Regions from separate parts of the Homo sapiens genome. Here region 2 is linked to region 1. The links are contacts of gene promoters, found by promoter capture Hi-C in blood cells and fetal thymus (Javierre and others, 2016). All regions are on one chromosome and are shown on one strand. Each heading gives the region's core, a stretch centred on a gene start or on the middle of the fragment in contact. The rest is flanking DNA. Distances are from core to core; before and after follow the strand shown. Region 1 holds the start of CFAP100-DT (CFAP100 divergent transcript). Region 2 overlaps ALDH1L1 (aldehyde dehydrogenase 1 family member L1).

Region 1 (5,233 bases), core at 1,543-4,042:
CAGGGGCTCCTAGGTCAGTGTAAGTAGTGCAAAGAGCTCATATCACTGCCCTCCCTGTGGAAAGCCCTTGACTCACCGTGAAGCACGGTAGACATGGCTGTCATTCTCCATAACCTACCACCTCTCAGCAAAAGGAAAACCCCCATGTGAGAGATCTGGGCATCTAAGGCATTTTACCTTGAAGGTGACTCTCCAATCCAGCCTGGCCTGCTGTGCTGTAGAACAACGGTGAGACCAGGTGCTGCAGGAAAGAAATACAAGCTGCTCTCTCAGGCTTTGTCGTTCTGGTAGACCTCTGAATACCCTGTCTGGGTACAGGACTACTCCTGACCCCCCTGGTTTCTGAGTCCCTCCTCCCACGGCAGAAGCCAAAGATCTTGTGTGGAAGGCGGGAGGTGCAGGCAGGCGATCCAGGTGCTGCCTACCGGTCAGGAGTGCATAGCAGACTTCGGATCACAGCATGTTCTCTGCCAGAACGCGCCTGCGATGGCTTTGGGCTCCGCTCCAGGCTACAGCATCTCCCAGCTTGATTCCCTATCGTCCTACAGAGTCTGGGGGCACCCCCATGTCCTTTTCTCCCCCAAGTGGCTATAGTTGCTTTCTGTTGTTTATTCCCGAGAGCCCAGACTGATATACCTTCTTTGAGGAGGAAAATACGAAATCTGAAATACGAATTTCTCCTTTAAGAAGATTGTTAGCTTTTCCCAAAATGTTTGATTATGAACATTTTCAAGCTTCAAACATACAGAAATGTTGGAAGGATTTTGAAGCAGACATCCACATGCCCACTGCCTGGGCTGGACAGCTCACAGGCCACTACGATTCACCACACAGCCAGCCAGCCACCATTGCTCCACCAATCATGCATCTGATTTTAAAAATTAGCTTTTAATCAGCAAATGGTATTTCTAGTTAGACCTGTTAGGCTAAGACTAAAAGTTCCAAATCAGGTCACGTTTTCTAGGTGGTTTTCTTTCTAACCTTGTAAGCTACCAAGAGCAAAAACAAAGGCCAGAACACACAAACTGACAGATAACTTGCCTTTATTATGAAGTACACCTTTGGACTTGTGGGGTTTTTTTCCCAAAGCTTGTGCATCATTGTCTGGGATAACTGCATAAAATGGAAGGACGATTCCTGGTGAGAGGCAGTGTGTTCTAGGTAAGAGCAAAGCTGGAATCCGCTGTCTCACTGTGTCCCTGCTCTGTCCACACCGGCAACTCATGCAAAGGCAGGGTGATCATGCAGGTGAAATGGGTGGATTGGTGTCAAGTGCGTGGAACAGTACCTGGCACATAGAAAACACTCTGTAAGGTTCATGGGGAGATTCACGACTGTTCATAAACTGATCTGTTGATGACAATGAATGGGCAGGAGCCTGGGTACCTTTGTTCTCTTTGGGTCACTTATGTTCTAGCTTCCTAAAAGTCTCATTAGAGCACCTTGTATTTAGATAAACCATTACAAAAACACTTACTTTTCTACTTGAGTCACCAGTTTATGAAGTGCTTCTTGTGGTTTGCTAAAACCTAAATCGGAGGGACAGGTTTTTGTTCTGCTTTGATGGTTTGTAGGGAGATAAGGCTGCAGAGGTAGGCTGGGGCCGGGTCATTGAGGACTTTGAATGTCAGTGTAAGGAGCCTCTCTCCTAAGGGTAAAGGGACAACTTGTCTTTCAGCACATTTGACAATAGCAGCTGTAACGAACACACACGTGCACACATGCACACACACACACTACATGTGCACACATGTGCACATGCACACATGCACAAATCACATATGTGGCTTAACACAATACAACATTCTTCCTCCCTTGTGCAAAGCCCACTGTGGATATTGCAAGTTGGGACACTATTCTACCAGCGAAGATTCAGGGATCCCTGCTCCTTCCATCTTGGGAGCTCCTCCTCACTCCCACCCCCAGCTCCAATGGAGTTCCTGTTGTGGATGTGGTCTTCCCACCCACTACACCGGCCTTAGGCAGAGCCTGGCACAGCTGGGATCCTCACTGGGACTACATTGCTGGGCTGCAGACTGCTCCAGAGTCCCCCCAGAAGCCCCTAAATGTCCCTGAAAAGATGAGTCACTGACTGTGCTTTCAGCTCCAAGCAGCCTTTATCAATCTCTCAATCCCCATAGATACTGGGAAAATCTAGGAACATGTTCAGAACTCAAAGAGGGGTCTTCTGCTGCTGCTTTTTGTGGGGAGACAGGATCCCTGAGCTGGGGGACCAGACATCCTGGTGCCCCTGGCTTCAAGCAGCTGGTGGATCTGCGCGCTCAAAACTTGCCCTGGTCTGTATGGCCTCATCCTCTCGCTTGTCCCACTATGATGGATCTCGCTCGCTCCGTAGAGCAGTGGCTTTGCAACCCTAGCCAGCACTGGGGTCGCGCGTGGACTTGTCAGGACACACATTGCTGGGCTCCACCCCGAGTTTCTGATTCTGGGGCGAGGATTGAAAACTTGCTTTTCTAACGAGTTCCCAGCATTTTCGATGCTGCTAGTCCTGAGACCATACTTTGAAAACCGCCCCTCTAGAAAGTGCGATCCCTCCCCAGGAAAGAAGCAGGGCTATTTTTGCTCCAAAAGTATCCATCCTGCACGCCCTCTTCAGTGCTTGGCACGTGGCGAATAAACCAATCAGGATGAAAGGAGCCAACCCAAGTGCGGAGTGTTGAACCTCAGAGGAAGAAACCCGCGTTCACCAGGCCCAGGCCTGGGCCAGGCGCTGTCCTGGCGGCGTCAGGGAGGACATCGTGCCCAGAGCTCGGACCCAGCAGCCCGGCCCCGCGCCCTCCCTGTCCCGCGGCCCGCAGGCCCAGCCCTCAAGCGCCCAGCCTCCGCGGCCTTTGTGGCGTCACAGCCAGCCTGAAGAATGGTTGCCTTGGAGACGTAAACCCAAGAGCCCTGCTCCTGGAGCTGAGAACTGCAGCGCGGAGGCTTCGGAGCGAGCCGGGGCAGTCGGGGTCGGTGGGTGCGCTCGCGGTCCGGGGAGAGGGGGCGCGCGGGGTCCGTGAGGGCGCGTGGGGGCGGCGGCAGGGGTGCGAAACCAGGGCCCGAGGGGCGCGCGTGGCCGGGAGCGGACTTGCAAGGCGCCTTCCAAGGCTGCCCGCTCGCATGCCACTTGCTTGAAACACACCCATCTACCATCCACCCCATCTGTCCTACCATCCCTGTGCACCTCGCTGTGTGGCTCGGGGCCTTGCAGAGCGCGGGTGTTAGGAGGCGACCCTGCGAACCCCAGGCTCACCCAATAGGGGGCTGCAGCAGGAATGCGGCAGGAATGGCACAAGCTTAGAGTGGGGGCCCTTTCCAGAGGCAGCCCCTCCTGACTGTGACTTTGGACACCTCGCTGAATCTCTGCTTCCTCCCCTGCAAAAATGAAAATTCATTCAATGGATGAAGTTAAGAAGTGCCAAGGGTATGTCAGGAGCTTGGATGAGCAGAAAAGACCCCCCTGTTCTCATGGAGCTCACATTTTAGGGGGAAATAGACAACGAATGGATTTTTAAAGTGATAATCAGATAGTGGGAATTGCAGAGAAGAAAATAAAGGCCACATGGGGGTGGGGAGGAAGAAACCACTTTGGATGGGATGGTGAGAGGTCTCTCTAAAGAGGTGACATTTGAGCTCGGAATTGAAGAGAAGGAAGCCCAGCACCCCCAGCTGGGTATGGGAGAATATTTTTTGGCCGAGGAGGCCGAAAATGCAAAGGCTTGAGGCCAAGATTGATGTGTTCTAAGCACAGAAAAAGTAGGCAGCTAGAGCCAAGTCCAGGAGGTGAGAGTGGACCCTCGGGTGGGAGAGGCAGGGAGCCGGCAGGTGTCCCCACAAGGTGAGCCCTCAGCAAATGTCGGTGGCTGTCAGCCACCCAGGGGGAAGGAAGCTCTGGGCTTGGGGACCACCAGGCTCAAGCACTGTGTCACTCCTCAGGTGAGGATCTCCTTTAGAAGAGGAGAAGCCTTGCATCAACCTCTTGGGCCTCAGCCAAGATGTCTGAGATACCGTCCACTATAGTCTCCAAGAACATGACCAATGACAGTAAGTACCGGGCCAGGGTGGGCACTCTCAGAGGTCAGGGGCAGCTTCGGAGCCTGTCCAGCTCCCTCACAGGTTAAGGTAGCTCTAAACCAAACACTAGGCAGGAGTCATAGATCTGCCTACTTCCCTTGAAACAAGGCATATGGATTGCCTGCAGCTGCTGTAACAAAGCACCACCACAAACTGGGGGGCTGGAGTCACAGACATTTGTTTTCTCAAGCTCTGGGGGCTGGATGTCTGAGATCAAGTTGTCCAAAAGGCTAGGTCCCTCCAAGGGCTCTGAGCGAGAACCCATTCCGGGCCTCTCTCCTGGTTTCCAGAGCTTTGCAGGCAATCCTTGGTGCTCTTTGGCTTGTAGAAGCATCACTCCCATCTCAGCCTTCCTGCCCATGTGGAATTCTGCCTGTGTGTGTCTGTGTCCAAATTTCCCCATTTTACAGGGACCCCATCACATTGGATTGGAGGCCTACCCCGCTCCAGAATGGCCTCAGCTTAGTGAATTACAGCTGCAAAGACCTTATTTCCAAACAAGATCACATTCTGAGACAGTAGGGGTTGGGACTTCAACATACGAATTGGGATGACACAGTTCAACCCACAACAGACCATGAGGAAGGTGTCACCGTGAAGGTGAGCTTCTCTCAGCACCCCTCTGACCACAAATGCCAGGCTGGGCTCCAAGGAGGTGGTCAGCTGGCGCTAGGCCCTGGATGAAACATGCCTGCCCTAGTGGAATTGCATGCATTTGCCAAGATCTCACACAGGGCGACGCTGAGGGAGGCTGCCCAGGCCTACCTGGGGCCCTTCAGCTTTTTTATTGGAATTTAATTTGGTTTTGACCAGGCATAGTATTCCATGGTTCAAAATTCAAAAGTGTGTTAAAAGCCCCTCATTGTGAAAAGCCTCTCCCACCCTGTCAAAGGCATACAGTGCCCCTTCCTTAGAGATGGCCACTGTCCCCTGTCTCTTCTAGGCTACCAGCTCAGTGCACATACAGGCAAATGTGTGTAGATGAGGTTTGTTCTTTTCTTACACGGAGATCACACAATGAAAACCCTGTCTGCACCTTGATTTTTTTAATTAACCCATACATTGTAGAGACTGTTCCTTATCAATACATCAAGAATTCCCTTATACTTTTTGTGCTTTTGAGTAGAATAGTAATCTTTCAGTATGGCTGTATCATAAT
Region 2 (5,464 bases), core at 936-3,435, 260 kb before region 1:
GCCTGGCAGGCAGAGCCCTTGGGTGGAAGCTGGTCCTGGTACCAGCAAAGCCTCTAGCTTTGACATTCGAGCAAGAAAGGGTGAGGGTGGGGGCAGGGCCGGGTGTCCCCCTCCCCACAGCTCTAAGCAGTTGAGCACATGTAGAAGGCCCAGGCCTTGGGGGGTCCAGCTGCAGCCAGAAGCTACACAGCTGCGGAGTAGGGGCGGGCACCAGGCAGCCCACCTCCCTTGTCGCTGTCATGCCCTGGTGGAGAGGAGGAACCATGGAGCCCAGATCTGATCTGGCAGAGACGCCATGAGTCCTGCAGAGGTGGACCTCCCCAGGGAGCCTCTACAAATGGCCCCCAAGTTCCACAACTGATGGCGGGAGCCTGAAGATATGGTGACACTCCCTCCTATGAGGTGTTGACTGTCCCTGTTGACCCTAAGGTGGGGACATAGTGCCCATGAGCCCAGAATAACTGCAGGAGCCCCCAGAAAAGCAGGCAGAAGACAGTGTCACAGGGATCCCAAGCCCGAGAGTGACCTGCTGCCGCTGGGAGATACAGTGCCCTGAGCAGGGACCTGCAGCCAGGAAGGACCTGCGGCCTCAGCCCTGCATCCACACGGAACTGAACTCTGTCAACACCCGAACTCGTCTGGATGCAGGTTCTGTCCCAGAGTCTCCAGATAAGGCCCAGTCCAGCCAGCGCCTTAGCTTTGGCCTTGTGAGACCTTGGCATGGAACCCAGCCCAGCCTGCCTGGAATTCCCACCTGCAGGACCACAAGCTAATAAACAGGTGTCATTCCAAGCCACCAGTTGTGGTCATTTGCTGCGCAGCATGCAGATGACTGTGCTGCCCTTGGAGTTCTCCTATATGGCTGGGCCAGTCTGCATGTGCTCACACTGGGTGGGAGCCTGGGCCCCACCTGGATCTTGTCACACCAGCCAGCAAAGTAGCGGAAGGTCTGGATGGACATGCCCACGTGGGTCTTCAGGGCCAGCGTGTAGACGGCACCCGCATCCAGGGCCTCAATGGTGGCCAGCTCCTCCTGGTGCTGCTCCATGAGATCTGCCAACCTGACCAGGGTGAGGGGAAGCGGGAGGTGGGCTCAGGCCTGGCACGGCCTCATCTGCCCTCACAAGGCCCTTCTTCAAGGAGCTGGGGTCCTGCCCTCTACCCCAGTTCTGCCACTCTCAGATGTGCGGACCTCCGTTTCTGATCCATGCAATGGGCCAGCACCGTTTACTCCACCGGATAGCTGTGAGGATGACACCCTCTGTCCCTCTCTCCTTTCCTCGATCTTCCCTCGCTTCCTTCCTGAAGTATTTGTGGATCCACTACTTTATCCTATTCCTCCGAAATTATCCTGCAGAGGCATTCACCCACTTGCTGCAGACAGCAAAGGGGTCATGGCCCAAGAGGCTGCCCTTCCTGTCTTCGGAAAGCTTGAACCAGGAGAAAGTCCATCTGTCTTTCCAGCACCAATAAACCAACTGTTCAGTCCAGGATGGTGGGGGCATGCTCCTGAGCCTGGCATCTCCAGAGATGGAGAGGTGGCCCCATCCCCATCACAGAAGGGCTGACTAGGGAGCAACGTGGGGGCTGACGCGTTTACACAGACTGGCTTCAGCCTGAGCATGCCGAGGTCGGGTTGCCCTCCCTTGATTCTGACGGATGTGCAGCTGTGGGCAGCCTGGGAGTTATGAGGGTGCCCCTCTCATCCCCTAGGGGGAGGGTGGACAGGGAAAGTGGAGACCACAGGCCCAGAGCAAACTCAGCCTTGGAGACAGGGCAGCTCGGGCCCAGAGGCAAGTGTGGGACCAAAGCCTGCCAGCCGTTTCCCACACTGCTCCCCTCTGCACCCAGGCACCATGAAGCCCACACGCACCCCAGGCCTGCTCCGGTCCTCACCTGCCTACACCCACCAGGACCCGTGACAGCTGTCCACGCCACTCAGGATGCATCTGCAACTCTGTGCCTGGCCAAGCAGCTCCTGGCCATTTCCATTTCATTCTGGGGCCACAAGACCCCAGCTCCTCTGCCTCCCTCCTCCTCCTCACATCGGCCTCTTCCAGGTGCTCAGGTCAGTCAGGCCTCCTGCCTTGGCTTTTAGGGGCTGTGTTGCATGTCTGGGCCCCCTTTCCACACTCCTGTTTCTCCTCTTAGCCTTCTGTACTTGTTTCAGACACGGACTCAATGGGAAGCCGACCCAAATCCCCAACCATGTTCTGACTGATCAGAGCTCCCTGTCACATCCTCTGATAGCCTCCTCTGCCTTTCTTCACTCCCCCACCACTACAGTTTGTAACAGACATTCAGGTAGATGATAATTTCATCACGATTTGCCTGCCCACTGGAATCCAGGCTGCAGGAGGCAGGGCGCTGTCTGGTTCCCTGCTCTCTGCAGCGCCCAGCTCCAGCACAGCACTGGGAAGCACTCAGCTCAGGTTTGCTGCATAAAACCAACTGAGCGAGGCCACCCTGGGCAAGGAGAGCCCATGCGTAAATCGGTTCCTGAGAAAAACCGATTTTGTACAGCAAATAGTGAAAACATCACCTAGCGGCCGATAGAGGACTAGGCTCCCCAGCTGCGAAGACAGGAGCTGCCTCTTTGTTATATAAATGAGACCCATTTGCTCCAAAGCCTGCTGGCACCAAACTCAAATTTTCCCACTCCCAGTTAGGCTTAAAGTAGCCCAAACAGGTACGTTTTTAGCCACTTAGGGCCCGCTGCTTTGCATACCCAGAGGAACCTCAACCAGCAGTTGTTGCCCATTGATAAAACAGGGCCTTGGGGTGATAAGGTGAAAGCTGCTACTGCCCTTGGCAGCCCTCAGACCCAGAGGCTCCCACTGCATCACTGTGTGTTGTCACCTGGACATGGAAGCCCACACGGCAGCCTTGGGACAGTCTCACTGCTCGTCTCCTGCAACCCTACCCAACCTGCAGCCCACTAAAGCTTGTGGTGTGCCATGCCTCCCCTGCTCACATCCTTCTCCTTCATCAGCCCCAATCCTTTGAATCCCCCACATTTCTAGATAATTCCACCTGTGTGTGACATGGCTGTGTCATCAATCCAGTTCCCAGGACACACTTTCTAAAGTATCCATCACCCGAGTGCACTATTCGGGAAGCTCTGAGAGGCTGCCTTGCAGGACTATTCTATTGTTAATTCAGTTAGGCTGCTGAATTCACACCCTGGCACCCATGCTCCCCAGAGCCCAGTCCCTGGGTGCCAGGGTAGCAGTGCAGGAGAAGTGAAGCTGCTGCCATCTCCCTCTGAAGGTCTGCAGGGCAGATGCAGGGGTGCCCAGCAGGCTCGGCCGGCCCTACTGACCACCAGCAGCCTGGACCACCGTCAGATTCTCAGCCGTGGACCACAGTGGTATCTGGGCAGAGCCAGCAGCTCCCCCACGGTCTTTCCCAGGAGCTCCTCTTTGTGGCCCCACTTGGCAGCTGGATACGGCTGCTCCTACTCCCTGGAGGTTCTATCCTGTCTACCAGGAGTTCAGGGGACTGCCTAGGAACCTTGTCTAACTCTCCCTCTGGATCCTTCTTCCTAGCTTCCACAATTGTGTAATGTCTGATTCCTGCAGTGAATTTCGTGTTCCCTAACACCCACGGTGGTCCCGCCACCCTGACAGGGTGCTCTGCAGCCATTTATCTGGGAGCTCCTGAACTGCCCCCTCCGGGACACCTAGACCCAGCCTCTGCTGTGCTGAGCTGAGGCAGAACCAGTAATGGGCACTCCCAGGTCTTCACGGGGCCTGAGAGTTTGCATAGGACAGGAAGGGGTCCACTTACAGCTGCCCAGGGTGCCCCCCTCACTGTCATTATGGGTGAGTAGAATCTGTTATGATACAAGCCACCAGATGGCAGCAGAGGCCAAGGGAGGGACCCCACGCACGCTGTTGGTTGTGCGGTCCACCAAACGCGCACGCAGGGCCCAGGCCAGAGGTTCTCCCGCCACCTGTCGTGCTTGTTTCACAGCTCTTCCTGACCTCCAGGAACTCTAGGGACCACTTGGCGTGGCCAGTGCCTTTCTAGAATTGAGGGGCTTGCGAAGGGGACTGGAACCTATGAAAGGCTGGGCATGCCCGACCCCCACAGCCCTCCCTGCCCCAACCCTAATCTCCATTCGGTTTTGCAGACCATGCTCTTGCAACCCCTCTCTCTAGTTTCCTGCTGCTGGGCTGCCCCGGCTTTTCTGGCCTCTGGAGTATAACAGAAACAGAAGCCATTCTGACCGCAAGGCCAAGGCAGGGTCTCTCCTGCCAGGTGAGGAGCTTCGTTGGGACCACGCCATAACTTGGCTTCGCACCCCTAGACGTTCCCAGGACCCCAGCGAAAGAGCCAGGCCCCAAGACACCTGTGTTCTCGGCTCATCTGGCCGCACCCTCTCTTCTCCCAGGAACATCACTCCACCTCTGTGAGGGTGACTGCTCCTTCCCGCCAGGCCCTGTGGTTCCAGGGGCACAGCACCTCTCTTCCAGGCCTTCCTCTCACTCTAAGGTCATAAGCTAAAGTCATCATAAGTCCTTGCCTAAGACGTCTGAACTGGAACTAAGGAGAGAAGGCCCCTTTCTCCCTGGCTTAAATTTTTTTTTTTTTTTTAATAGAAAATGTGAAACCTATAGATTCCAGTAGTCAGAGCCTGGCTGAGCAAGCAGAGACCAGGCCAGCCCTTCTCTGGCCCTTGCTGTCTTCTGCGTGCAGGAGCTAAGTCCCCTCCAGCCCAGGCTGGTGAGGGAAGTGCTTTGTCTGCCTGGGAGGCCCAGCCTGCGCCCACTTTGGAAGCATCCCTTGGCTTCCGCACCTCCTCACCTCCACCAGGCACCTCCCCTGAGCCCACTCTGCTGAAATGTCTCCTGTTTCTCATATCCCTTCCTCTGAGAAGCCTTTTCTGAGCCTCAGGCAAGGAGCCCCAGCCTGGCCCATCTGATGGCCTCGGTCCCATAGCCTCCCCAGGACCCAGCTCCTCCTGGCAGGTAAAAGGGCCTCCACAGAAGTCCCCCCCGTGCCACTGCCCAGAAGCTGATGGTGGCAGTGGCTGGCAGGTACATGTTGGGCTCCCACCTGTACATCAGCCGGCCCCGGTCCCGCGCACTGATCTTCCCCCACCGTCCATTCTCAAAGGCATCCTTGGCTGCGGCCACTGCCTTGTCGACGTCGGTGACTTGGGCCAGGGATACCTGGCAGATGACCTATAGTGGAAGCAGAGCCATGACAAGTTCTCCCTAAGCCAGTTGCACACAGATACCCCTGCCTGCTTCCCTGGCCTCCTCCTGGGGCCCCAGTGAGGCGGCCCCTGTCCACATGAGCAGGTGTGGAGGAGAAGCATGGCCAAAGGACAACCCTGGGAGGGTTTACACAGGAAGGGAAGACAGGGCCCTGGGAGAGGGCTGTTTGTGTGTCTACACCCCAAGGTCCCCACCCTGTTCCTGCCCTGAGTGTGCCATCCGTGCAGGCTCCCTCACCT

Evidence for each region. Contacts are between HindIII fragments. The CHiCAGO score rates a contact against its expected background, and 5 or more counts as called.
Region 2: a contact is called between a fragment that was not itself captured here and the fragment with the promoter of CFAP100-DT in region 1, in 8 of 17 cell types (megakaryocytes, monocytes, endothelial precursors and 5 more). The highest score is 16.5, in megakaryocytes.

The regions. Positions count from the first base shown.
Region 1 is chr3:126,392,006-126,397,238 of GRCh38, forward strand. CFAP100-DT (CFAP100 divergent transcript) reads right to left here and starts at 2,793. Exons shown (of 2, transcript NR_103789.1): 1 at 2,294-2,793; 2 at 1,027-1,288. CFAP100 (cilia and flagella associated protein 100) reads left to right here and starts at 2,904. Exons shown (of 17, transcript NM_182628.3): 1 at 2,904-2,973; 2 at 3,937-4,044. The coding sequence starts at 3,996. LOC107986044 (a long non-coding RNA gene) reads right to left here and starts at 243. Exons shown (of 3, transcript XR_001740563.1): 1 at 178-243. The HindIII fragment of the contact is 2,207 bases long and covers 1,088-3,294 here.
Region 2 is chr3:126,130,474-126,135,937 of GRCh38, forward strand. ALDH1L1 (aldehyde dehydrogenase 1 family member L1) reads right to left here. Exons shown (of 23, transcript NM_012190.4): 12 at 5,062-5,189; 13 at 911-1,061. Among named protein-coding and RNA genes, the nearest start is that of ALDH1L1-AS2, 47 kb to the right of the region's middle. RefSeq lists an enhancer at 1,365-2,182 and a silencer at 3,780-3,859. The HindIII fragment of the contact is 1,514 bases long and covers 1,429-2,942 here.